Regions from separate parts of the Homo sapiens genome. Here all the other regions are linked to region 1. The links are contacts of gene promoters, found by promoter capture Hi-C in blood cells and fetal thymus (Javierre and others, 2016). All regions are on one chromosome and are shown on one strand. The core of a region is centred on a gene start or on the middle of the fragment in contact, and the rest is flanking DNA. Distances in the headings are between cores, read along the strand shown.

What was found. Contacts are between HindIII fragments. The CHiCAGO score rates a contact against its expected background, and 5 or more counts as called.
Region 2: a contact is called between a fragment that was not itself captured here and the fragment with the promoter of NDP in region 1, in 5 of 17 cell types (M1 macrophages, monocytes, M2 macrophages and 2 more). The highest score is 7.8, in M1 macrophages.
Region 3: a contact is called between a fragment that was not itself captured here and the fragment with the promoter of NDP in region 1, in 1 of 17 cell types (M2 macrophages). The highest score is 7.3, in M2 macrophages.

Annotation. Positions count from the first base shown.
Region 1 is chrX:43,970,575-43,975,691 of GRCh38, reverse strand. It overlaps NDP (norrin cystine knot growth factor NDP), which reads left to right and starts at 2,302. Exons shown (of 3, transcript NM_000266.4): 1 at 2,302-2,388. NDP-AS1 (NDP antisense RNA 1) reads right to left here. Exons shown (of 6, transcript NR_046631.1): 6 at 4,140-4,247. The HindIII fragment of the contact is 1,267 bases long and covers 1,338-2,604 here.
Region 2 is chrX:44,224,787-44,229,903 of GRCh38, reverse strand. EFHC2 (EF-hand domain containing 2) reads left to right here. Exons shown (of 15, transcript NM_025184.4): 11 at 125-255. Among named protein-coding and RNA genes, the nearest start is that of EFHC2, 120 kb to the left of the region's middle. RefSeq lists a silencer at 1,176-1,225. The HindIII fragment of the contact is 4,065 bases long and covers 1-4,013 here.
Region 3 is chrX:44,204,958-44,210,074 of GRCh38, reverse strand. The region is part of intron 11 of EFHC2 (EF-hand domain containing 2); the gene reads left to right. Among named protein-coding and RNA genes, the nearest start is that of EFHC2, 140 kb to the left of the region's middle. The HindIII fragment of the contact is 4,172 bases long and covers 795-4,966 here.

The sequences.
Region 1 (5,117 bases), core at 1,053-3,552:
AGTGATCCCTTGAAGGATTTCTCAGCCAGCTGATAGACATCTCCTTCTGCAAACTCTTCTCTCCCTTAATACATACGAAATAACAGCAGGGGTCCCTTCATCCCTTTGGCAAAGTTAAAGGGAGTCCTTCTTTCTCAGCAACATTAATGATGGCCAGTAAAGAAACTACACGTGGCACAGTGACCTTTCTAAAAAGCATGGTGATGAGATAAAAACAGTTGCTGTTGCCAGCTCTCTATTGACAGGCTTAGAAATGGGTTCTCTGGAGCCCAATGTGGGGAGGCAAAGCCTTCCTCTTGAATGGGGCAGCAGATGGTATTCTTCGCCACTCCTGACAAAATAACGGCTGGAAGAAGCAGTAGGACTCCATCTGGGAGAGATCTTGTCTTCTGTGGCCAAGCAGTCAATGTGTTTGCAATCTTTACACTTTCTGTGGTGCTCTTTCAGAAGGGCAGATTGTAGAATGCTGGAAAATTCTGCCCAGGAACTGGGCAGAATTCATGCAACCCTGACAACCTGAAGGCGAAAGATGGCAGGGTGGAGTGGCGAGCATATGTTGAGAAAGCCACAGATTATTTCTTGGGAGAAATGAGAAGGTGGACGGATGTCAAGTTCTGATATTTGAAAATGTTGGTGGCCAAAGAGTTTATTCCCCCTCCCAATCTGACCCACAAAATTAGGCCAGAAAATGTATTCCTGACTGTTTCCATGGCTCTTACTCAGCTACAAGTCATTTCCCCTTTCAGATTATTTCCAGTTTTAAGGCCCAATTTCCATTTGCTTTTTGATCTTCTGCTTTTAAGATATTTAGCCAATATCATCATCAGCCAAGTGCCAGGTTTTTTTTCAAGGCTTTGAATTTGTCATTTATCCATGATCTTCGCAGGTGGATTCTGTTTGTGACTGGCTGGTCCAAGGTAGACAGGGTATTTTTTTTTCCAAGTGGAGCATAAGAAAAGGGATTTCTGGCAATAAAACTGAAAGTTTTAAGACACCTCTTGCAAATATCAGTGACTGGAGTAAAGGTCCCATGGAAAAGTAATAAGGTGAATGTAAATTTATTAATGAATAACAAATAGTTTGATACAGAGTTGAACAAGACAGTTTCAGCATCAACAATTACATGAAGCTCCCAAGAAAAATTTCTTTTTGAGTTTTATAATGTATTATTTTTTCCACGAAATATATATATTTTAAATTCTCAGTTTAATTCTTCATCAGTAGTATTAATAAAACAAATTATTCTGGGTCTGATTTACCTGACATAAAATAATTATTAAATGTTCTTTGTATTTTCCTCCAAAATCCCTGACGGTTTTCTGTGTTAATTTTAAGCTTTCAAAGGGCAAGAATTATGAAATATTTGCCTTTGTAGTCCCACAGCTCATAACACAGCATGATTCAGCTGCAGGTATTTAACCCACACACATAGTTACCTTTGTCACTTTTCTACTAGTTGTTGTGTAATGGGTTAGCTTTATCTATTAGTTTCTCCTTCATATAGCTCAAGGAGTCAAGGAATACACGTTCTCATTGTTTCTAAATCAGACCTAAAGTTTTATTCTAAATGATGCAGATGAAGGGGCTTATTAAAGTGCCATTGTGAATTTAATCATGTATATGCTGCTAAAAATCATTTAATGGATGAACAACCCGGAAAAAAAGAACTCTCACCACCCACACACATCGTGATAAAATAGGGCAGCGTTTTGCACTTGCTTTAACAGCATCGCCTGAGAAAAAAATTTCTGGTTCCCATCTTTCCCCTCTCTTACTTAAAATTTCAACTTCATCACAGTCAGCTGCCGAATCGTTCAACAGAATGCCACACTGCCTTTGTATTTCCAAAACTATACGTCTCTATTGCGGACGGCACATCTTTATGGCAGCCACATGCTTGAAAAAGAATTAAATTCAGAATATTCATTTGGCCTCTTATTAGTTCCATAATACCATTAAAAAAGAAAGAAAGAAAGAAACTTCCTCGCCCTTGTTCTGCTACGCTGTTCCCATCGTAAGATGCTCCGTGGAAGGGAGCCGAGCGGTGGGCAGAGGCTGAGTCCCCGATAACGAGCGCCTCACATTTCCGTGGCATTCCCATTTGCTAGTGCGCTGCTGCGGCCGCACGCCTGATTGATATATGACTGCAATGGCACTTTTCCATTTGACATTCTCTCTCTCTCTCTCCCTCTCTCTCTCTCCCTCTCTCTCTCCCTCTCTCTCTCTCCCTGTGTCGCTTAAACAACAGTCCTAACTTTTGTGTGTTGCAAATATAAAAGGCAAGCCATGTGACAGAGGGACAGAAGAACAAAAGCATTTGGAAGTAACAGGACCTCTTTCTAGCTCTCAGAAAAGTCTGAGAAGAAAGGAGCCCTGCGTTCCCCTAAGGTAAGCAGGAAAACAAGCGCTGCCGGCTTGCCTAGGAAATCGCTTCTTTCCAAACCGAGCATTTCATCCTCCTCTCAGACAAAGAGACAACCTTTAAATACCACTTAAATTTGCATTACTTTAATTTGCATTAATCTGTAGCATGCTAGCATTGTGTTTCTTAAATGAACGGGTCTTTGAAGTCTGTGACAGAGCAGGGAGCCTCCTAGAAAAGCTTGAAAATATCTTTTGGTTTGACTTAAAGAGATTTTTCTTTTCAAACTCTCTGCGTAGTTAGATGTAACTTTGTGATGGTTCTTATAGTTGACCCCGTGAAAGGGGGCTGCGAAGCAGCAACTTGCCAACATGGATTCATGGAGCCCAGTATCTTCCCCAGCACCCTCATCCCACTTACAATGGGGGCACTATTAACGCAGGCAAGACTGCGAGTTTAAAAGCGCACTGTTTACTTTTATTACTACTTATGTATGCTGCTGATCTCCTGCCAGGGCTCTGCCGGAGTGCTCAGAATGACTTCAAACAATAGGCAACATTTATTTCTAGCTTTCTGTGTCACGCTTTGCAGGAATCCTGCTCCCTTGCACTCTTCTTTCAGCGTGCAGGTCTTCGCTTCCATAGATGCATTGGGGAGCACCGGGAGGAGATGAGGATGGATTTACTGTATGATTTTGATTGGGCAAAAAGTCCGAGGAAATGCATGCTGTTTGCCTTGGACTTATTGCAGGGGGTTATTTTTAGTCATCAGCTCGTCCCTGCAGCATGATGTTCAAGGAGTGACCGGGAAAGGATGCTCCCACCAGCACAGAGACCAGGACCTGTAGGAATGACTCCTACCTGCGGGATATTCCGAGGTTTCTTTCAAACTTTGGAATACAAGTTCTCTCTTTAAATGAACAATTGAGCTGTAGGAGGCCTGGGCATAACTCTTTCTTGGGGGACGGGAAGTTTGATTGTGTACAGAATGTTAATGACTCAGAACGCCCAGTAACTGAGGCTCATTGTAATAGACAAACCCAGATAAGCCTCCATGAGAGGCAGACTCCCATCTTTACTGAGATTCAGGTGCGGGAAAGGAAGCTATTTGGCAAGATGGGAGTCCCTTGTACAGTTCTTTGTAACTCATTAATAACAGATATGGCTGCTGTGAAACATGTCTCTTTTCATTTCTAATATTAGTGTATTTTAATTACAAGGAGCTGGCATTGGCAAATTACCCCAACACATAAGATTAAATACCAGGTGCATTTGAAAACAGAGAGATGACTGAAATGGGGAGTTGCTGTGGGTGTCAACCAAATACAGCGGGGACGGCACAATGCTTCTCAACTGAGCGTTTAAACCAGATGCAAATATCTGCTCATTTTCTTCTCATCAGTCTTACTAATTCAAGGAAACTTTATGGTCCTGTTTGCCAGTTTTCATTGCAAATTGGTACACAGTTTATGCAAAACTTTTCTGATTTTCTCTGATAACCAGCCCAATAAGCATCGCTGAATGAAAATCTGATATTTGAATAGGTTAATTTACAACTTTGGGGTATTCATTAGTCAAGAAAGCCATAAAAGACACTATGGATTCCATTGCTGTAAAATTTTATTGTAATTTTTTTTTAAAAAAACTGCGGTTAGCAAAGCATTTAGCTGAATCAAAACAATTTTCTTAGACTATTATTCAGATCATTACATGAGAGTATTTGAACACAAAATGCAATGTTTTGCATCATTTATTTTAAAATACATTTGGTTCAGGTAACGGGAGAACTGGCTGAGGCCTTCTTACGACTGTGTACCAAGCAGCTGACACCCACAGATGGAAATGTGCCTGTGGAGTTTTCAATCTTAATTCGAGTTCCAATGACACTGTCAAGGGAAAAATAAATCATTTTTCAATACATTTAACAATTTCCAACTCATTTATTTTCCTGGGCCCTTGAAAAATGTGGTGAGTTTCTTGGAATTATAGCCACCAATGGTGGCCAGCAATCTTTATTTTAAGAACTCACAATTCAAGTACTATTATTCTCTGGTTAATTATTTATTTCATCAATTTTTAAATAAATATTTATTAAGCATTTTCTAGATGCCCAGTGCTATGCTAGTCCCGATGGATGCAAAGGTGAATGAGACATTGTCCCATACTCTAATTCTCAGTCCATATGCCATCTCTAGTTAGATTTTGGAACTGAAATGGGCATTGCCAATGGGTAAAGTGGGCAATAACTTTCCTGTTATAAAGAATTATTTAAAACAGCTACTGGTTTCTAGATTTACTTGAAATGATTCTCACTCATCAGTGGGTTTTCTTTCCATTTATGATTAAGGGATTCCCCTTTGGCCTTTTTCACCAGATCCTGGGTACACGTCATTTGCACAGCTAACACGGCTAGATCTTTCCAGCCTGGGTAGAAGAATCCCGGAAAAAGACAGTAGTTTATCCTTTCTCTGCTCTCCTGAGCACCCTGTGGAAAGGACCATATGCTGTCTCTATTGGGGATGGGTGTGAGTCGCCTACTCAGTAGCTAACATCAGGGCCACTTGATGAATCATCGAATTAGAAACATGCATATGGAGGAAGATGCAGTCACTATCCCTCACCACTTACTTGTCCCACCCCCAGTATCAAAACAAATGACCTCTGGGCCTGGCCTAAATTCAAGAGGCCCCTGGGAAGAAGCTGTTGGAAACTCTTCCCCAAACCCAGGTCTCCATCATAGCCACACAGTGTTGCTT
Region 2 (5,117 bases), core at 732-3,231, 250 kb before region 1:
CAAAGACAAATCTGCTAACTTCATATTCACAGTGTGAAGTCCCTTTGCTGGCCATCAGCAAGATTGGGCTCCTGAACTGTTAGGAATATTTAAATATGTTTTTCCTTTCATTTCCCCCTTACAGTATCCTTTCAGTAACCTCAAACTTGCCCTACAAAAGCTGAAGCAAGAAGAAGGAAAATCCAGAGAGCTCAAGCAGGTATTTAAAGCTGCTGACTCTAAGCACACAAATATGGTGGATTATAATACATTCAGGTAAGCCATATTCTGCTAACAATCACCTGTTTTCCCCTCAAGGTTGTCCAAAGAACAGAGAGAACTATTTCTTTCCTAATCAGTTAACTATTTTTTATTAGGAATTGGCATTTCTTTGAGTTTGTATTATTTTGTGGTAAAGTTTTGGCCACGAATACTCTAGTAAATGTTACGAATTTACATATAAAAGGAGTTTGTACATGAGAACAGAGGGACAAGAGCATAGAAAGTCAGCTGGTCACATTGTCTTATGAATCAGGAGGTTGAAGGATCAGCAGAATGCCAGGAATGATGCATCTGAGTGAGAAAGACAGAAAAAAGCACCGCTAAGAGCACGTCCTCCCTACCAAAATCTGGGGGACAAAGGAGGGACATCTCCAGGAATGTGATGAAGTTGGAAAATAGTAAAAACTTCACCGATTATCAGAGCAAAGGTGATATGTATGCATCTGTGTATACATGTGCTTACACACATATGTGTATTCTGAAAGACATGAAAATATAGGAATCGAGGGAAAAATATATGACAGTAGTTGGAAATATTATAACAAATCATGATTAAGATTTTCTCTAAGGTGAAGCTGAATTCTGGGACTATCCAGTGGCTGACCGAGGCAAATTTCCAAACAGCAGAAACACAGGGAAATTCAAATTCAGGGTCTAGTACAATCGTGAGACTTCTTAGGCTGAAAACAAAGTGAATGGAGCATTTAGGAGAATAAATTAAATCATGGATGGAGGACAAAGGGGACTTTCTCTTTAGGCTGAGAATTCTGGCTCCTGACAACGATAGTGGCTGAAAGCTATATAGTAAACTCCGCTTGATGCAGTCAAGATGTGGGCTGAGAAATGAGGAAGTGAGCCCAGGAGAGGGTAGCAGGGAGGTCTTTCCAACTTTGTGTCTGCAGTCGCCTATTGCATCACTACCTGGTGGCCTGGAGCCCACCATTAGGCCCAGAGTGTCCCAAGAGCTCATTTGTTGTTTTAACAAAGCTCTTTTGTGTCTCCAAAATGTTCTTTGGAGAGAAGCAGTCAGAGGACATATTTTTATTGTTTAGAATTCCCAACCTTCTGGGATCAATAAGAATTTATAGTTCTTTGTTATTGTTCATAGTCACATACACATGTTCATAGTGTTTTGGAAAATAAATGGAGACAGTAAAGAGCAGAGACAATTACACAGGCCATGGGCTAATGGAAGGCAGTGGAGGTGAAAGCAAGAAATTTCCATCAGAAATGAGGGAGTGGTTTCGTTTTATTATTTGTGTCCTTTTACAAAAGCATCCATTTTTCCAGCACTCGCAAAGTCTATTGGAAACACTTTAGTGAGTTTATAGGGCTTTTTGGGAAGCACTTAGGCCAGGCAGGCGATCCAAGGAGGAAAAGTTGCTTTGCAGATGGAGGCCTGACCCTAATTGTGGGTGGGATAAAGGGCCACTACGCTGTGATTGGAGGGGTGGCCTCAAGGAGCTGCATGCTCTAAAAGAAGGACCTCCCCGTCCCAGAAATTCCTTAAAATGAAACTCAGATCAGGTTTCGCCTGGCTTGAAAAATCCTTCAGTGGCTTGCCATTGTCCTCACAATAAGATCCAAACATTTGACTGCAGCCAGCAAGGCCTTGAGTGATGTGAGTCTGTTTGTATTTCCAGTGTCATCACCTCTTTTTCTGCAGCCCTGTCTTTTGGCCTTACTGACTGTCTTTCGGTTTCTCAAACACATCAAGCTCTTTCCTGTCTCTGAGCCTATGCACACCAAGTTCCCTCTGCCTGAAATGCAGTCACCACCATCCTCTGCATGGCACACTCTAGGACTCATCTCAAATGCCAACTCCCAGAGGGGCTTTCATTCAGAGGGGCTTTCTAGATCCTATCTAGAGTAGATCACCTGCTGTTATTCTTAGCCACTTGTTTATATTTTTCACAGCACTTAGCACAACTTGCAGTTATTTTATTTAGAGATCTGTTTACTTGGGGGTGGGGTATCTATGTGTATGTGCTGTGTGTGTCTTCTCCTATTCGAATGTGAGCTTTCTGAGGGTGGGGAACTCAATGGTGTTGTTCCCTGCAGCATCCCCTACTGCTGGGCTCAATACATATAGTTACTAAATGAAATAATGAACCACTAGAGTTGTTCCTGGGGGTTCTAGTTTGGAGGTGATGGCATGGCCTTCAAATGAGAGCGTAGACCAAGAGTCTAGATGTCTCAATCCATATGACATGCTTGGTGCCGGATGCTGAGCCCTCTGTGCTTGGGGCTGCTCATTTGTGCTCAGCCCACAAATGGTCCCTGCACCTTGTCTTCAGCCCCATCTTATGCTTTTCAAACTCTTTGAGCAAAGAAAAAGGAACTACATAGCCCGTGTCTATCACATCATACCCTAATTCAATTCTTTGCTCAGTGCTTTTACTAGCTAATATTTTCCTTTCATTATGTATGCGTATGTGTGTGTGTGTTTGTGTGTGTGTGTGTATTCTGACTCTCCTCATCAGAATATAACCTCTTTGAGGGCAGGGACCTTCTCTTTCTTGTTTTCTGCTTTAGCCTTATGACTTATTTCAGTGTCTGGCAAACAATAGGGTGTTAATAAATACTAGTTGAATGGGTACATTTTTTTTTTGTTTAGTGTTTAATATGCCTCAGATGAAATAATTCTCTGAGATAATTCTCTGCTTTTGTGTCTTTTGTGTTCTACCTTCTCTCTTTTCTCTTCTCCTTCCTTCCTTCCTTCCTTCTTCTTTTTCTTTTTCTTTTTTTTATTATACTTTAAATTCTGGGGTACATGTGCAGAACGTGCAGGTTTGTTACCTAGGTATACACGTGCCATGGTGGTTTGCTGCACCCATCAACCCATCATCTACATTACGTATTTCTCCTGATGCTATCCCTCCCCTAGGTCCCGACCCCCCGACAGGCCCCGGTGTATGATGTTCCCCTCCCTGTGTACATGTGTTCTGAATGTGTACATTTTATCTAGCCCTCACTGCTTTGGCTTTGACCTGTAGGCTGATTGTGTCCATGCTAGTTCTTCAAGCTCAGACCTTTCTCCTGAGCTATAAACCTGGAAACACGAATACCTCTGGGACGTTTCCCCCTCGCATGTCTCTTAGGCATCCCAGAAATAACTTTCCCTAACTTGACCTCATTTTCTTCTTTCATAAAGTAGCAGCTAGGAGACTGTATCCTGATAAAGGCCATCATGGGCATCCCCAAGAGTCCAGACCAGGTGTTGGCTTTGTGTCTCCCCTCTCCCCTCTCTCGACCTCTCCCACTCACCCTTTGGAATTATACGTCTTGAACTACCTCTGGGAACTTTCCCTTCTTTACATCTGCAGCTTCACGGTTGTAGTTCAGCTTTTCATCACTGTTTACTTGGACCCTCTGGAGAGCAGTGTAACTGATCTCTTTTTCTTAACTCTCATCCTGCAAAGTTTTGCCAGAGTGACCTTCCTAAACTCTGATCGGATCATTCTTCTGCTCTTAACCCTGCATCAGTGTGTCACATGAGTTTGCCTACCTTTAGCTCCGTATTTCCATCTCACTAGAAGAATACTTTTGTAGAAGCCACCATGTATTGAGCACTTACTGGGGGCTAAGCATCGTGCTAAATGCTTTATACCTACTCTTCACTGGTAGCCTCCTGTCAAGTTGTTACTTGTTTGCTTCCCTGCCTCCACATCAGCTCCTGCCAAGTGCAATAGATGTTTGCTGAATAATTTAATGAACGATCCTATTTCTCAAGGAACGTTCAGTCTAAAGCTTGCAGCAATCAAGTAAATAATTGATTTCCTTGCACCAGGGAAGGGCCATCTGGCTCTTACTTAGGGAAGTAAGGAGAAGCTAGGCCTGATCCTCACTAGCCAAGTAACTTGGGCAACTCACTTCACCTACCTGTATCTCACTCATTTGTTCATATATTGGTCTCTGAGGTCCCTTCTAGGCTCTGACAACTGGAAACTCTGAAAATGTAAGTTTATAATATTCTTGTAAAATGTTCTCTTTTCAAATTTGTACATTGAGATAGTAGAGAAGAGCAGAGGCAAGCAAAGGCAGGACTGCAGCATAGGCCTATGGGCTTGGCCTCTGTGGCCCTGACTCTCTTCTGCTTAGATACCTGGCACTCTCAGCATACACCTGGGGCTTCGGGGCCCAGACCTGCTGCTCTGGGCAGTGGTCCAAGCCCCCAGCATTGCCCTTTTTCTCAGAGATGTGCATCTCCTCTCAGAAAAACTTTGAGGGTAGGAGCTGATAAACTACCTCTGTATAAGGTGCCATGGTCAATAATGGATTAATGTGTGGGCCTCTCGGAGATATTTGCCTCAGAATAGACCTGATGGAATGCAGGGACAGGCAGCCATCAGGAAACAGAAGTAGGGAATGGTTTTTGTTTTTTTTTTTTTTAATTTTTTTATTTGGGTAGGGAACATTTCTCTTTTGCCTTGTGGGAATTCACCACTTCTGCTTCTGTTTCATTGATCCTCTTTAGAATCTTTTTGGCATGGTCTATCAGATTCGCCTGTGAGAGCTGCTGATCGTTATCCAAGAGAGTGCAGATAACCTTTCTTAGAGCCTTAGGATAGATACCTGGTGGCAGTGGTGGGCAGATTTCAGCAGGGAGCAGGGCAGGGACTAAGCTTGGCAGGGCTAGTATTTCATGCAGTTGGGAACATAGGCAGGGTGGGGCTTCCCAGTGAGGGCCCTGGACTCTGAACCACAGGCAGCAGCAGCAGCAGCAGCAGCACTGAGAGCCCAATGCCAAGGAAGATGTGGTCAGTCCATCTCTCTGGCCACCTCCCTGAGCCTTGATCTACCCATCAGAGATGACACCTGGCCCCATGTAGCCTGTGTGTATTTTGGTTAGCTGA
Region 3 (5,117 bases), core at 1,631-4,130, 230 kb before region 1:
TTCAAACACATTACATTCATTGCACAGTTTATTTCTATTATTATTACATTATAATATATAATAATTAATGTAGAATCAGTAGGAGCCCTGAGCTTGTTTTCCTGCAACTAGAGGGTCCCATCTGGGAGTGATGGGAGTCAGTAACAAATCATCAGGCATTGGATTCTCATAAGTAGCGTGCAACCTAGATCCCTCGCATGCACAGTTCACGAAAAGGTTTGCACTCCTATGATAATCTAATGTTGCTGCTCATCTGATAGGAGGCAGAGCTCCGGCAGTAATGCGAGCAATGGGGAGTGGCTGTAAGTACAGATGAAGATTCGCTTGCTCTCTTGCCCACCCACTGCTCATCTCCTGCTGTGCAGCCCAGTTCCTAACAGGCCACGGACTGGTACCAGCCCGTGGCCTGGGGGTTGGGGACCCCTACTTTATAGTTTTTAGGGTATAGTTCTTGCACATCTCGTGTCAAGCTTGTCACTAAATATTTTATTTTTGATGTTTTCATAAATATAATGTTTTAAAATTTAGTTTCTTATTGTATATTGCTAATATATAGAAATAAGATTGATATTTGTATATTGATCTTATATTCTGCAACATTGCTAAACTCATTTATTAGTTCTGGTAATTTTCCTTTTTATTCTATCAGTTTTTCTACGCTGATGGTCCTGTCGTCTGTGAATAAAGACATTTTCACTTCTTTATTTTCAGTCTGGATTCCTTTGATTTCTTTTTGCTTGCTTTATTGCACTGGCTAAAAGTGCCAATATGGTGTGTTTTGTCACATGAAAGCTTTAAATTTTTAATTATACTTGAATTTGTCCATCTTTTCCTTTATGGGTTTGTGAATTTTGCATTCTGTTTAAGAAATTATGTATGCCCCACATATATGAAGATATTCTTCTCCATTTTCTTCTAAAAGTTACAACATTTGCCTTCCACATTTGGGTCTTAAATTAATCTAAGATTAATTTTTGTGTCTAGGTTAACACACACACACACACACACACACACACACACACACACACACACACACACACACACACACACACACAGATTGCCAATCAACCCAGTATCATGCATTGTCTGTCCTTTCCCCAGTGGTTTGTACTGATACATCTGACATATGTCATGGACCCATATCCATATGAATTGGTTTCTAAGCCCTCCAATTTTATTAAGTTTGTTTGCTTGTCTATTCTTAAATCAGTATTATCTGTTTTCATTTATTACTATAGCATCATGATATGTCACGATGAAATATAAGCAGGGTAAGTTCTAATTTTTCTTCAGATTTGTCCTATTTGCAGACTTTTAATTTTCCATATGAACTTTATGACCACTTTTTCTAGCTCTATGAAAAGGTGATTGTATTTTGATTGGAATTGTGTTGAATTTATACATTAATTTGAGGACAGAAATTTTTCACAAAAATTTTAGATTCAGAAGGTACATGTGCAGGTTTGTTACATGTGTATTTTGCATAATGCTGGGGTCTGGGCTTCTACTGACCTTGTCACCCAAATAGTGAACATAGTACTCAATAGGTAGCTTTTCAACCCTCGCCTTCCTCCCTTTCTCCCCCTTTTTGGAGTCCTCAGTGTCTATAATTTCCATCTTTATGTATGTGTGTACGTTTTGTTTAGCTCCCACTTACAAGTGACAATATGTGGTATTTGATTTTCTGTTTCTGCATCAATTCACTTAAGATAATGGCCTCTAGCTGCATCCATGTTGCTGCATAGGACATGATTTCACTCTTTTATTTATGGCTGCAGAGTATTCCATGGTGTATATGTACCACACTTTCTTGCACTGATATGTTTATAAAAGTGGTATTCACAATAACCACCTCATAGAATCAACCTAGGTGCCCATCAACAGTGGACTGGATAAAGAAAATGTAGATTTCTTTTCCTTTGGGTAGATACCCAATAATGGGATTGCTGGGTTAAATGGCAGTTCTATTTTTAGTTATTTGAGAAATCTCCAAACTGCTTTCCACAGGAGCTGAACTAATTTACATTCCCACCAACAGTGTATAAGCATTCCCTTTTCTCTGCATCCTTGCCAGCATCTGTTATTTTTTGACTTTTTAATAGCCATTCTGACTGGCGTGAGATGATATCTTATTTGATTTTAATTTGCCTTCCTGTGACAATTAGTGATGCTGAGCATTTTTTCATGTTTGTTGGCTGCTTTTATGTCTGTCTGCTTTTGAGAAGTGTCTGTTCATGTTCTTTGCCCACTTTCGAATGTTGTTGTTGTTGTTGTTGTTGTTGATTTAAGTTTAGATTCTGTATATTAGTCCTTTAGTCAGGTTCATAGTTTGCAAATATTATCTCCCATTCTGTGGGTTGTCTGTTTACTCCATTGACAGTTTCTTTTGCTGTGCAGAAGCTCTTTAGTTTGATTAAGTCCCGTTTGTCAATTTTTGGTTTTGTTACATTTGCTTTTGAGGTCTTCAATATAAATTCTTTGCCTAGGCAAATGTCCAGAAGAATTTTTCCTAGGTTTTCATAGTTTTAGGTCTTACATTTAAGCCTTTCTTTTTTTTTTTTTTAGAGACGGAGTCTCACTCTGTCACCCAGGCTGGAGTACAGTGGCATGATCTCAGCTCACCGTAACCTCCGCCTCTCGGGCTCAAGCAGTTCTCCTACCTCAGCCTCCTGAGTAGCTGGGATTAAAGGCACATGCCACCATGCCCAGCTAACTTTTCTATTTTTGTGGAGACGGAGTTTCACCATGTTGGCCAGGCTGGTTTTGAACTCCTGGCCTCAGGTGATCTGCCCACCTCTGCCTCCCAGAGTGTTGGGATTATAGGAGTGAGCCACTGAGCCCAGCCACATTTAAGTCTTTAATCCATTTTTAGTTCATTTTTGTATATAATGAGAGTTAGGGATCCAATTCATGTCTAGCCAGTTTTCCCAGCACCATTTATTGAAGAGGGTGTCCTTTCTCTATTGTTTATTTTTGTCAGCTTTGTCAAAGATCAGTTGGTTGTGGGTATGTGGCTTTATTTCTGAGTTCTCTATTCTTTTCCATTGATCTATTAGTACGTGCCTATTTTTTGTACAAGTACCATGCTGTTTTGGTTACTATAGCCTTGTAGTATTGTTTGAAGTTGGGTAATGTGATGGCTCTGGCTTTGTTATTTTTGCTTAGGTTTACTTTGGCTTTTGAGGCTCTTTTTTGGTTCCATATGAATTTTAGAAATGTGTTTTTTCTAATTCTGTGAAAAAAATGACATTGGTAATTTGATAGGAATTGCATTGAATCTGTAGATTGCTTTGGGCAGTATGGATATTTTAATGATGTTGATTCTTACAATCCATGAGCATGGGATGTTTTTCCATTTGCTTGTGTCATCTATGATTTCTTTCAGCAGTGTTTCATAGTTCTACTTGTAGGGGTATCTCACCCTTTGATTAGGTGTATTCCTAGGTATTTTATTTTTTGTGTCTATTGTAAATGGGATTTCATTCTTCATTGGTTCTCAGCTTGAATGTTATTGGTGTATAGAAATGCTACTAATATTTGTGCAGTGATTTTGTATCCTGAAACTTTACTGAAGTCATTTTTCATGTCTAGGAGTCTATTGGAGGAACCTTTGGAGTTTTTTAGGTGTAGAATCACATTATTGGCAAACAGAGATGATTTGACTGCCTTTTTCCCTATTTGGATGCCTTTTATTTCTTTCTCTTGCTTGATTGCCCTGGCTAGGACTTCCAATACTATATTGAATAGAAGTGGAGAGAGCGGACATACTTGTCTTGTTGCAGTTATTAGGGGAAATGCTGCCAACTTTTGTCTTCCTGATGTAAGCCTTTAGCACTATAAACTTTCCTCTGAACACTGCTTTTACTGTATCCCACAGGTTTTGGTATGTTGTGTCTCTGTTTTCATTTGTTTCAAATAATTTTTTGCTTTAATTTCATTGTTTACCTAAAAGTCATTCAGGAGCAAGTTGTTTAGTTTCCATGTATTTGTGTGGTTTTGTGAGTTCCTCTTGGTACTGGTTTCTAATTTTATTCCACTGTGGTCCAAGAAGATGCTTAGTAGAATTTTGATATTTTTGAATTTATTGAGACTTATGACTGAGCACGTGGTCAATCTTAGAGACTATTCCATGTGCAGATGAGAAGGATGTATATTCTGTGGTTATTGGGTGGAGTATTCTGTAGATGTCTATTAGGTCCATTTGGTCAGAAGTCCAACTTAAGTGCAGAGTTTCCTTGTTAGTTTTCTGCCTCAGTGATCTGTCTAGTCCTGTCAATGGGATGTTGAAGTCCTCCACTATTATTGTATGGCCATCTATGTCTTTTCTTAGGTCTAGTAGTAATTGTTTTATAAATCTGGGTGCTCTGATGTTGAGTGCATATATATTTAGGATAGTTAAATCTTCTTGTTGAATTGAACGCCTCATCATTATATAGTGCCCTTCTTTGTCCTTTTTTAATGTCGTTGGTTTAAAGTTGTTGTTGGTTTTAATGTTGTTGGTTTTATCTGATACAAAAATAGCTACCTCTGCTCTATTTTGTTTTCCATTTGCATGATAGATCTTTCTCCATCCCTTTACTTTGGGCCTATCAATGTCATTACATGTGAAATGGGCCTCTTGAAAACAGGAGAAGGTTGGGTCTTGTATTTTTTTTTTTTAATCTAATTTGCCATTTTATGTCTTCTATATGGAGCGTTAAGGCCATTTATATTCAAGGTTAGTATTGATATGTGAGGTTTTGTTCCTATTGTAGTGTTGTTAGCAAGTTGCTTTGTAGTATCAATTGTGTAGTTGCTTCATAAGGCTCTCGGCTTTATACTTATGTGTGCTTTTGTGGTAGCAAGTATTGTTCTTTCATTTCCATGTTTAGAACTCCTTTAAATATTTCTTGTAGACTGGTCTGGTGGTGATTAATTCCCTTAGCATTTGCTTGTCTGGTAAAGACTCACCTTCGTTTATGAAGCTTAGTTTGGTGGGGTATGAAATTCTTGGCTTGGATTTATTTTCTTTAAGAAGGCTAAAAATAGGTCTCCAATCTAGGAGGTCTACTGTTAGTCTGATGGGATTCCCTTTACAGGTAATTTGGCCCTTTTCTCTAGCTGCTTTTAAAATTTTT